Linked DNA regions of Homo sapiens: region 2 is linked to region 1. Evidence: promoter capture Hi-C in 16 types of primary human blood cells and fetal thymus (Javierre and others, 2016). All regions are on one chromosome and are shown on one strand. The core of a region is centred on a gene start or on the middle of the fragment in contact, and the rest is flanking DNA. Distances in the headings are between cores, read along the strand shown.

The links. The method cuts DNA at HindIII sites, captures the fragments that hold promoters and counts their contacts. A CHiCAGO score of 5 or more calls a contact.
Region 2: a contact is called between a fragment that was not itself captured here and the fragment with the promoter of CD79A in region 1, in 1 of 17 cell types (non-activated CD4 T cells). The highest score is 5.8, in non-activated CD4 T cells.

What each region holds. Positions count from the first base shown.
Region 1 is chr19:41,875,418-41,880,525 of GRCh38, reverse strand. It overlaps CD79A (CD79a molecule), which reads right to left and starts at 3,247. Exons shown (of 5, transcript NM_001783.4): 1 at 3,143-3,247; 2 at 1,237-1,536; 3 at 873-991. The coding sequence starts at 3,221. RefSeq lists a silencer at 3,046-3,105 and an enhancer at 4,513-4,582. The HindIII fragment of the contact is 1,040 bases long and covers 2,772-3,811 here.
Region 2 is chr19:48,248,352-48,253,683 of GRCh38, reverse strand. CARD8 (caspase recruitment domain family member 8) reads left to right here. Exons shown (of 14, transcript NM_001184900.3): 2 at 3,837-3,933; 3 at 4,051-4,161. It also overlaps the pseudogene VN1R97P. Among named protein-coding and RNA genes, the nearest start is that of CARD8-AS1, 4.7 kb to the left of the region's middle. The HindIII fragment of the contact is 206 bases long and covers 3,542-3,747 here.

The DNA.
Region 1 (5,108 bases), core at 1,998-4,497:
GAGTCTACAACCAGTGTTCTCCTTCCTTCCTTCCTTCCTTCCTTCCTTCCTTCCTTCCTTCCTTCCTTCCTTCCCTTCCCTTCCTTCCCTCCCTCCCTCTCGCCCTCTCTCTCTCTCTCTCTCTCTCTCTCTCTTTCTCTCTCTCTCTCTTTCTTCTCCCTCAGTTGCCCAGGCTGAAGTGCTGTGGCAACATCATATTTCACTGCAGCCTTGAACTCCTGGGCTCAAGCAATCCTCCCACCTCAGCCTCCTGAGTAGCTGGGACTATAGGTGTGTGCCACCATGCCTGGCTAATTTTTTTTTAAGACTTTGTGTGTGTAGAGATAGGGTCTTGCTGTGTTGCCCAGGCTGGTCTCAAACTTGTGGCCTCAAGTGATCCTCTTGCCTCGGCCTCCCAAGCTAGCGTCTTCTTGAGTCTCCACTCCCTTACTATTCTCCATGAATAATAACAATAACAGTCACACTTTCTGTAGTGCCTAAGGAGAGGCTGGTACAGATCAGAGATTCTGGGAGGACCAGGCCCCACCTTCCCTGGTCTTGGCTACACCTGGAGGGTAACCACACTCCTGGGTGAGGGCAGGAGGGGAGTGAGGACACTCTTAGGGAGAAGAATGAGACTCTTCTTGGGGGGAGGTGGACGTGAGGACAGCCCAGAAGGGGAAACTAAATTGAAGACACCCCCTGGGCTCAGCGCCAGTTCAAGTCCCTTCTTTATATTCATTCATTTAACTCCCACAGCCCCTATATGGTGGGTGCTTTCATTCTCCCAAGTTTTGGATGGGGAACCTCAGGCTCTAGAGGGCTACCTGGGTATTGGGGGTCCCTCGGCCCAGGCCCTCGCCCGGCTGACTCAGAGGTCCGAGGGGGCTCACCCTGAACAGCAGCAGCGTCCCAGGCACCACCGCGCAGAACAGGAGGATGATCCCCTCGGCTGTGATGATTCGGTTCTTGGTGCCCTCCCCCATGTCCAGGAAGGGCCTGGGGGGCGGCTCTGCAAGGAGGTAGTATGGCTCAGAGCCCTGGCCCCTCTTGCCCTCCCTAGCCTCCTGGCCCCGCCCACCTCCTGCAAGGCCCCAGACCCCCCAGAGACCCCACTCTGCAGAGGAGAATGTCCGTCCCTCTGTCCAAGCCGGTTTGAAACCCACATTGAAGGTACTGGCTCTATCCCCACTTCAAAGATAAACCGAGTGTCCCCAGCGGGACAGTGGGAGTAGGGGCCAGGGCTGGGCCACTCACGGCGCACGCGGAGGTAGGTGCCGCAGGACTGCTGGTATGACTCGTTGCCCTCCTGGACCCGGCACACGTATATGCCCCCATGGCTCTTGTTCACATTCTGGATGATCAGCGTACCATTGGGGTCCTCGCCCGGGCCCAAGAACTCAGGGGGCCACGTGTAGTTGCCATGGAGGACGCGCCACCAGGTGACGTTGGCGTTGTTGCTGCTATTGTGCGGGCATTGGAAGTGGGCGTCTTCCCCCAGGCTCACCATCAATGATGCTGGGACCTTGTGCATCCACAGGGCCTGGCACCCAGGGCCTGTGGAGAGACAGGGTGGGTGGGTCAGGGACTGGGGATGGTGACACATTTCCCCAGCCCTGGCCCCTGCAGTTCCAGCACTCCTGGGAAGAGGGTGAGGACTCTCCTGGGTGGGGAGGGAGAGAGAGAGCCCCTGACAGGGGCTGATACATCCTGGGGAGAGGGGGGATGCGGGAAAGTGAAGAAGCCCCTGGGAAGGAGAGAGGACATACCTGGTTGGGGTGGGTGAGGATATCCTGGGAGAGGAGAATGAGACTCCCTGGGATGGTAAGACCCCTGGGAGGCCCTTCTCACCTCTGCAGCGCCATCTCTTGCCCCCCTCCCGCATACCCACTTTGTACTCTGGCCCTGTGAACTCTCTGGATTTTGGATGTTTGTTCCAGGCACTGGAGGACCGCTGTCCAGACAGCTCCTTCCAGAAGCAGTGCAGGCGTCCCCTCCTCCCGCAGCCTTCCCGGTCCATTTTTGCACCCCAGCCTCAGCCAGGCCCAGCACCTGGCGCTTTTTCTTGTGTAATCATTCACAGAACCCTAGAAGTAGGTTCTCTCCTTAGCCCCATTTTACAGGAGGGATGGCTGAGGCTCTGGGAGGGCAGGCGGGTTGCCAGCATCACCAGGCAGTCAGGAGTGGCACTGGGTTCAAACTCTTGGCTCCCTGGCCTCTCCCTGCCTGGGCTGAGGAGCCAGTCTGTGGCCTGCCCTGGCCTGTGACCCTGTGCCTGGCCCTCATTCTCTGTAAGTTGTATGTGTCAACCTAGGGGTCAGGGGTGAGTTCAGTCCTTGGGCTGGGCTGCTGGTGATTGAAGGGGCTCAGAGCGGGGTGGAGACTGGGGGTGTCTCTGAGTGAGACGAGGCGGCTCAGGCTGGCTGCAGTGTCCAATCCGGGCTCCTCTGGGAAGCCCCAGCTCTCAGCCAGGCCTCCCACATGGCCAGTCCCCTCTTCTGGAGGTAGGTGGAGGAGGGAGGTGAGGAAGAGAGAAGGAGGAAGAGATGGGGAGAGGGGCCGAGCACCCTCATCGTCACGGGCTTAAGACTCAGACGTGAACTCCAATCCTTGCTCCCAGTGTCCCCTTGGGTGGGGAACCTTTTTCTCTGAACTCCTGGGTTAGCGTGGCCACAGCCCCTGCCAGCTGTCCTTGAGCAGGTGAGGGGGAGTCCATGAGACACCCATTCCCCCAGTGCTGAGAAGGGACTCCCAACAGAGAGAGGCACCTGAGGTTTAAGGCAGAGAAAGCTTTTTCTCCCCTTGACAGACGCTGAATGCTGCTACCCCTAAGTCCCCTTCCTGCCCCCAGCCCTGGTGCTCAGTCAAGAGCAACTTTAGTTCCTTATTTTGGCCTGTGGGGAACAGGAGGTGGGGGAGGTGACTCTTGCTCCTGCCTCCCTGTGTGAGACTGTGGACGCCCCTTCTCCTTCGCTGGGCTCCCTCCAGCCCCACCTTGGCCCATCTTGGCACAGATACGATTTCTATAGGCATCTTCCCTGGGTCCCCTATCCTCTGCCTCCTCTTCCCCTTTCCCTGAGCCCCCTTCCCTCTGCCTGTGCCCTCTCTGCAGCCTCCACAGCTTCCCCCACCTCCCGCCAGTTCCTGCCCTTTGGCCACATACCCAGGTAGACAGCAGACAGCAGGAAGAGGAGGAAGATGGTGGCAGGCAGAGCTTGGAGGACTCCTGGACCCCCAGGCATCTTCTCCCAGTGGGTTGGTTAGTTTGAGTTGCAGCAGTCCCAGGGTACCAGATCCCTACCCCAAACCCCACCCTACTTCCTGCCCAGCCCCCCGGAGATGGGCTCCAGTGGCCCTCGCTACTGGGCCCTTTGCTTGTTGGGCCTGGGGACAGCCCCTGCCGGGTATGCTTCAGGCTGTGAGTGGAGAGAAACTGCTCCCTGCACCTGTGGTGGCCACAATTCCCCTGAGAGGTGGCTGCTTGGGTGGGGGAAGAGGCTGGTTCAAGGGCTGGCTCGTCACTGCTGAGCCTTTGGAAGGAAGCCTAGGGAACCTGAGTCCTGGGCATGTGTCATGGGCAGGTGATGGTTCTGAGCTTGACCTCTCCCCCTGCCTGGACTTGGGCAAACCTTGTCCCTTCCCTGACCCCATTTCCTTGCTTCTTGGGATTAGAAACAAGGACTTAAAGGGGTTGTCACATGCACAGAAATGGCCCACAGTAGGCGCCCAGTAAATGTTAGTCACTATAAATACTCATGAAGAATAAATAAGGCAGGCTGACCTGTGGCTGACTACCCGTGTGACTAGGTGGGCACTTTGATCCTTCGAAGCTTGACATTTTTCATCTGTGAGATGAGGACCAGAATGTCTCCCTGTCTCATTATGTGATACGAGATGGTGTTCCTGGTATTCAAGGAGTGAGAACCATGATCAGCTCTTTACTGGAATTCTTTTTTTAAAAAAACAGGCCAGCTATGGTGGCTTATGCCTGTAATCCCAGCCCTTTGGGAGGCTGAGACAGGAGAATCACCTGAGGTCGAGTTTGAGACCAGCCTGGCCAACATGGCGAAACCCCATCTCTACTAAAAATACAAAATTAGCCAGATGTTGTGGCACATGCCTATTATTCCAGCTACTCAGGAGGCTGAGGCAGGAGAATCAGTTGAACCCAGGAGGTGGAGGTTGCAGTGAGCTGAGATCACACCATTGCACTCCAGCCTGGGTGACAAAAGCGAAACTCTGTCTCTAATAATAACAATAATAACAACAACAACATATATTTTTCTTCTTTTTTTTTTTTAAGAGGGATGGGATCTTGCTATATTGCCCAGGCTGGTCTTGAACTCCTGGCCTCAAGCAATCCTCCTGCCTCAGCTTCCCAAAGTGCTGGGATTACAGGCATGTGCCACTGTGCACAGCCAGAAGTTGTTTTATATTGACCTGCCATGACTGGCAAGGTAGGCCATCCCCCATTTTACAGAGGGGGAAACCGAGGCCAGAGAGGGGAGGTTGTCACTTGCGGGTGTCATACAGTCTAGGGGTGGTGGACAGAGATTCAAAGTCATCTTTGTGTTGCTCCCAGTTTCCTTTGAGCATGTCTGGTAGGAGGGAAATGAGGTCTGAGTGGGGAGGGCGGAGTTGCTGAGATATTTGTGAGCAGTTAGGGGACCCTCACACACATACAAGGGGATATATAAAATAAATTTATTGCAGGGAGATTTTTGGTAGCAAACATTGAGAAGCAAATGAAAAGTCCATTTGTGGGAGAATGGGTGCATACACTGTGGCAAAGTGAGCCAACAGAATGCTACAGAATAGGGGAAGGTGTCATAAGGCTGTCTCAGAAACAGCACAAACATCAGAAAAAATATCGTAGCATGATACAGTTGACTTGTTTTCAAAAGGCGTCCGCTGCTTAGGGACACACGTTTGTAGCAGAGGTGTAGACCCGTGCAGGGGAGTGGCAAACGCCCAGTTCCTGGGAGGGGTTACCTCTGGGGGACGCCAGGGTTGGGTCTGGGGAGGGACACACAGAGACACAGAGAGCTCATCTTGTCTTGGTTTTATTTCCTGTGTTACTTTTTTTTTTTTTTTTTTTGAGACGGAGTCTCGCTTTGTCACCCAGGCTG
Region 2 (5,332 bases), core at 2,395-4,894, 6.4 Mb before region 1:
AAAATATATTTTGTCTAATATTATTGGAGGTGCACCTGCTCCCCATTGATTACATTTTTACACAGATAGTCATCTTGCATTCTTTTATTGGAATCTTAATATAACTTCTTTGGGTTTATCCCCTGTAAGATGGAGGGAAATGCTCTTGAAGCCTAATTTGTCTGACATTCATATTGTTGCTCCAGATTCTTTTTAATAACCATGTATATGGTATATCACTGCCACTGTCATATGAGGGGTGGGGAAGTGGCCCCACTTGGAAACATTTTTGCAGATGAGTATTTAAAATGATAAATGTTGGCCAGGCACGGTGGCTCACACCTGTAATTACAGCACTTTGGGAGGCTGAGGCAGGTGGATCACGTGAGGCCAGGAGTTCGAGACCAGCCTGGCCAAATTGGTGAAACCCCGTCTCTACAAAAATACAAAAATTAGCCAGGCATGGTGATGCATACCTGTAATCCCAGTCACTGCAGCTCCCTGCACCTGTACTCTCACACACCACATTCTCTTAACCAGTCCTATTCTTTTTAGCTCCTATCATGTGTACATATACGTTTTCCTGTACCACAAACATTCTGTATAATCTCTTGTGCTATTATGTTTTATCTGTTTAGATCATGGATGTATGTCCAACCCATTAAATAGTACCAAGAATAAGGAACATGTGCAAAATGTATTTGTGGAATGAATACAAGAAGTGCCATAGAGCAGTGCAGTTTAACAGAAATATAATCCAAGCCCCAAATGTATATTAAATTTTCTAGCAACTGCATTTAAAAAAGCAAAAACAAGCAGATACAGTTAGTTTAAAAATACCTATGTAGTTGTATATGTATACACATATGTGTGTGTGTGTGTGTGTGTGTGTGTGTATATACTGATAAGGCCAGTGCGGTGGCTCACACCTACAATCCTAGCACTTTTGGAGGCTGACACAGGCGGTTCACTTGAGGTCAGGAGTTCTAGACCAGCCTGGCCAACGTGGGGAAACTCTGTCTCTACTAAAAAATACAAAAAAATTAGCCAGGCATGGTGGTGCACACCTATAATCCTAGCTACTCGGAAGGCTGAAGTGGGAGGATTGCTTGAATCCAGGAGGTGGGGGCCGCAGTGAGCTGAGATCACACCACTGCATACTCCAGCCTGGGTGACAGAGCAAGACTCTGTCTCAAAAAAAAAAAATTATATATATTATATATATTCTTACATATGTTTTACTTACATATTTGTGTATATGTATTTTATTTAAATATGCATATATATGTAAACATAACAAAACATATACATACGTTTTACCCAAAATGTCATAATTTAAACTTGTCAGCAATGTGAAAGTTATTAAGATAATATTTATATACTGTTATTTATATTGACTTCAAAACCTGAATGCTTTTTAAATTTATGATACACCTCAATTCAAACTAGCCCTAATTCAATTGCTCAATAACTGCATGACTTTTTCTCCACAAAAGTCATCATGGAGACTTCCCAGCTGCAGAAGAAAGTATGGGGTTTGAGATCAGCCATTGAATGCTCCCTGAGAGCTGATCATTCTTGTCTTAGAGAGGAAGAGGTAAATTAGGAAATAATTTTATTATTTTTTATTAGCACAAAAGGGCAGATGGTTGGGTAGCATGATGAAATAATTCCAGTGATCATCTCTAGTCTTGATTTTTTCTCAGATTTATAAAAGAAATAAAGAGTGATGAAGTTGTTTGAGCAATAAAAGCACACAAAGCAACCAAGCAGCAGGAGGATGGTATGGGTGGCTCTGTGTTCAGGAGATGGCTGGGAAGAGAGGCTAGGGCTGTGCAGACGCTGGGCTCTCCGCCGGTGTCTGCAGAGGAGACTGGCCATGTTGATGCTGGTCCAGACCATGAGGAACACAAACAGGACATGGCGAATCACCATGACATTTATAAATGATCCTTGGGGGAGTTTTATCTGTTTAGATCACGGATGTATGCCAAATCCATTAAATAGTACCAAGAATAAGGAACATGTGCAAAATATATTTGTGGAATGAATAAAATAAGTCCCATAGAGCAGTGCAATTTAACAGAAATATAATCCAAGCCCCAAATGTATATTAAATTATTGTATGTATGGCCTAGTTTGACAACAGTCTTGCAAATATCCAGGACCAGAAATGGTGAAATTGGTATTGGCCTCTACGGTTTCAGTGATGTGAACGTAGATTAGCATGTTGGTGATCCAGAGGAAAATGAAAGAGGGAACAAACCTCAAGGCTGATATGCGGATCACACAATAGTTTACCAAACTGCCCAATATCATAACCAGAGACGTTCACACTACAAACCAGGAGAAAAAGTTGGTGTTTTCACACTGTATAACTTTCTGCAAGATGCTGAAACAAGACTCTATATCATAATGAGACTTTCATCTCACTTAATTCGACCTTTTCTACTTAGCAGAATAATGGTGTAACTTAAATTTTATGATCAATTCCTTCTGCTTATAACTTAACAGAACCCAACCTACAAAATTCTTTAGTATCCATTGGTTAAGCAAGAAATTGTCTGTGATGTTGCTAATACGACATGCTATACCTGAATAAATTCCTCTGAGAAAAGTTGAGGCTCCTATACACAAAATAAGAAAGCAGGCCATGTGGTTACCCCAGGTCTCACCTAACTCCCTGCTGTCTCGAATAACTGTTTGAGTTCTTCAATTAGTTGTCTTTAAACCTAGGTTTATGGCTCAAAACCATATGCAAACTGAAAATCTCATATTGCTCTTAATTTGTATTTCCCCTTACTTTGTATTTCTCCTTTTTAAACTTTGTATGTGTTACTTGTTAAATTTTTTCAGAGGTGCAGCTCCTAACAAAATAATACTGAATCAGCACTTTAAAGGGATAGCAAAAGACTGTAGAACAGACAAAATTGAACTTACTAATGGACTCCAGGGAGACTTAGCCTGAGAGCCACATCCTTCAAATCTCTTTTGTTGCTCAAATGTGCTTTTGACATCGATTCCTAGTCACCAGTCACTCCCCACAACATGGGATGAGACCAGCAAACTGGGAGAGGTCCATGCTGGCATCAGGGGACATCAAATCTTAATTACAGAATGATTGATCAATAATGCTTTTAGAGAAAGTTCTTGATCACAAGGAGAAATCTGAAAGTTGTCAGAACAAAATGGAGCCACTAATGTTAAGATGACCCTGACAAATAAAGCCAGGAAAGCCATGAAGAGGGGGGGTCTTATCCTTGTATGCTTGAAAATGAAAAAGACTCTACAAAACCCACAACCTTGCATAAAGGTCATTGCAACCTTAAACAAAAAATATTTCTGCAAGGAATGCTGCCCAGCAACTGCCTGTCCAACCTCAGACTAATGTCACCTTTGTGCCTGATCCTGTGGCCAAGGAAAATCCTGTCAAAACAATATGCAATCCTCCCCATTTCTGTCTTCCTTTATCTTCCTGAATATATACATAGTTTAATATGGCATATCTATTCCCAATTGCAATGCTCTATTCCCAAATAAACACTGTTTCCTTTAGGAAGCTTTCATATGTTTGTTATTTAGGTTAACACTTGTAATAATTAAAGGATTACAGTTACAATGTAAAATTATTAGTATTAACAACACAAACATTGGTATAAAAATTATTATTACAGAAATTAAAACAACTTGAGTATGGAGAGATTAAGACTGTCCCAGCCAAGTCATTGAAGTCATAAATTTAAGCTATGACTAACAGGATGCAAAGCTTCCTGAGGGTTTTGTTTTGTTTTCAACAAGCGGAGGGCCCCATTTCCCTTTCCGACAGCCTCATAGGAACTTCTCCCTTTCTTCTCAAGTGACCAAGAGGAACAGAACACAGAGCAGCCTGGCAGTGTCCAAGCAACAAGCCTCCGCTCCTCCTTCCTGCACCCTGGGGCTCCTGAAACTCACATGGTAAGCGCTGCAGAAACGCAGCAGGTGGTGACTTTAGGGGAGGACAGGCCAAATGGGAGAATCCCCTTAAGCTTCGGTTTCTCTAGTTCTCAACTTCTTTTGAAATAATGTTCATAGAGAAGGAGGGCTGTCTGAGATTCGAGGGAAACAAGCTCTCAGGACTTCCGGTCGCCATGATGGCTGTGGGCGGTAAACGCGGTTAGTGCAAGCATCTGGGCCATCTTCAATGTGAGTAGGAAAAAACACGACTACACTTACTTCTGCAGAGTTTATAATATCCTTGCCCATTATTTACAATAAAATATCTAAAACATAGGTAATAATATATTTTAAATAAAATTGAAGCAATATATGAAATTTCTCTGAAATTCATCCAGCCACTCTCGGCTGTTGCCACTATCCAGAAACGTCTTAATCCCCCTGCATGATTTATGTATTTGGTTTGTATTTTAAATATTATTTTCTGTAATATTTAAAACTTGTATTTGCTTGGTATCGTGCTGTGCAGTCTCATGCAATTTGATTTTTAATCAATATTACTTTTTTTTTTTTTTGAGACGGAGTCTCGTTCTGTCATCCAGGCTGGAGTCCAGTGGTGTGATCTCGGCTCACTGCAACCTCCACCTCTCGGGTTCAAGCGATTCTTCTGCCTCAGCCTCCCGAGTAGCTGGGGTGACAGGCGCCCGCCACCACGCACGACTAATTTTTGTATTTTTAGTAGAGACGGAGTTTCACTATGTTGCCAGTCTGGCTTCGAACTCCTGATCTCAGGTGATCCGCCCGCCTCGGCCTCCCAAAGTGTTGGGATTACAGGCGTGAGCCACCGTGCCCGGCCCAATAGTACATTTTAAATATTTATCCATGTTTACATGTGGTTTTAATAATTTATGTTAACTGCGCTACAGTATTAATGCAATGATGATATTATAATCAATGTATCCATTCTTTGATGATGGACATTCAGTTTGTTACCCTGTTTTCTGATAGCAAACCATAATACAATGGACTTTTTATATGCATTTTCTTGTCCACACATAATTTCAAGGGTAGGTGTGTCTTGAAGTCTAGATACAGCCAGTTTATTCTCCAAAGCGGCTGTGTTTTCAGTCATCTCCACTACTGGTTTACGAGTTTCCATTGCTACACATTCATATTCACACTTGATTTTGTCAGCTTTTCTTATTTCCATCAGTATTGTGGGTGAGAATGATAACTGATAGTGGTTGTCATGCACATTCCCCTGATTACTAGTGAATTTTAACATCTTTTCAGGACATTTGTGTTTTATCCTTTTGATTCCTTATTTATATCATTAATTCATTTCTCTGTTGTTTGTTTCTTCAATATGTCAAGGAATAATGAATTTTATTCCAATTTTTGGAAGTTTAGGAATTTTTTT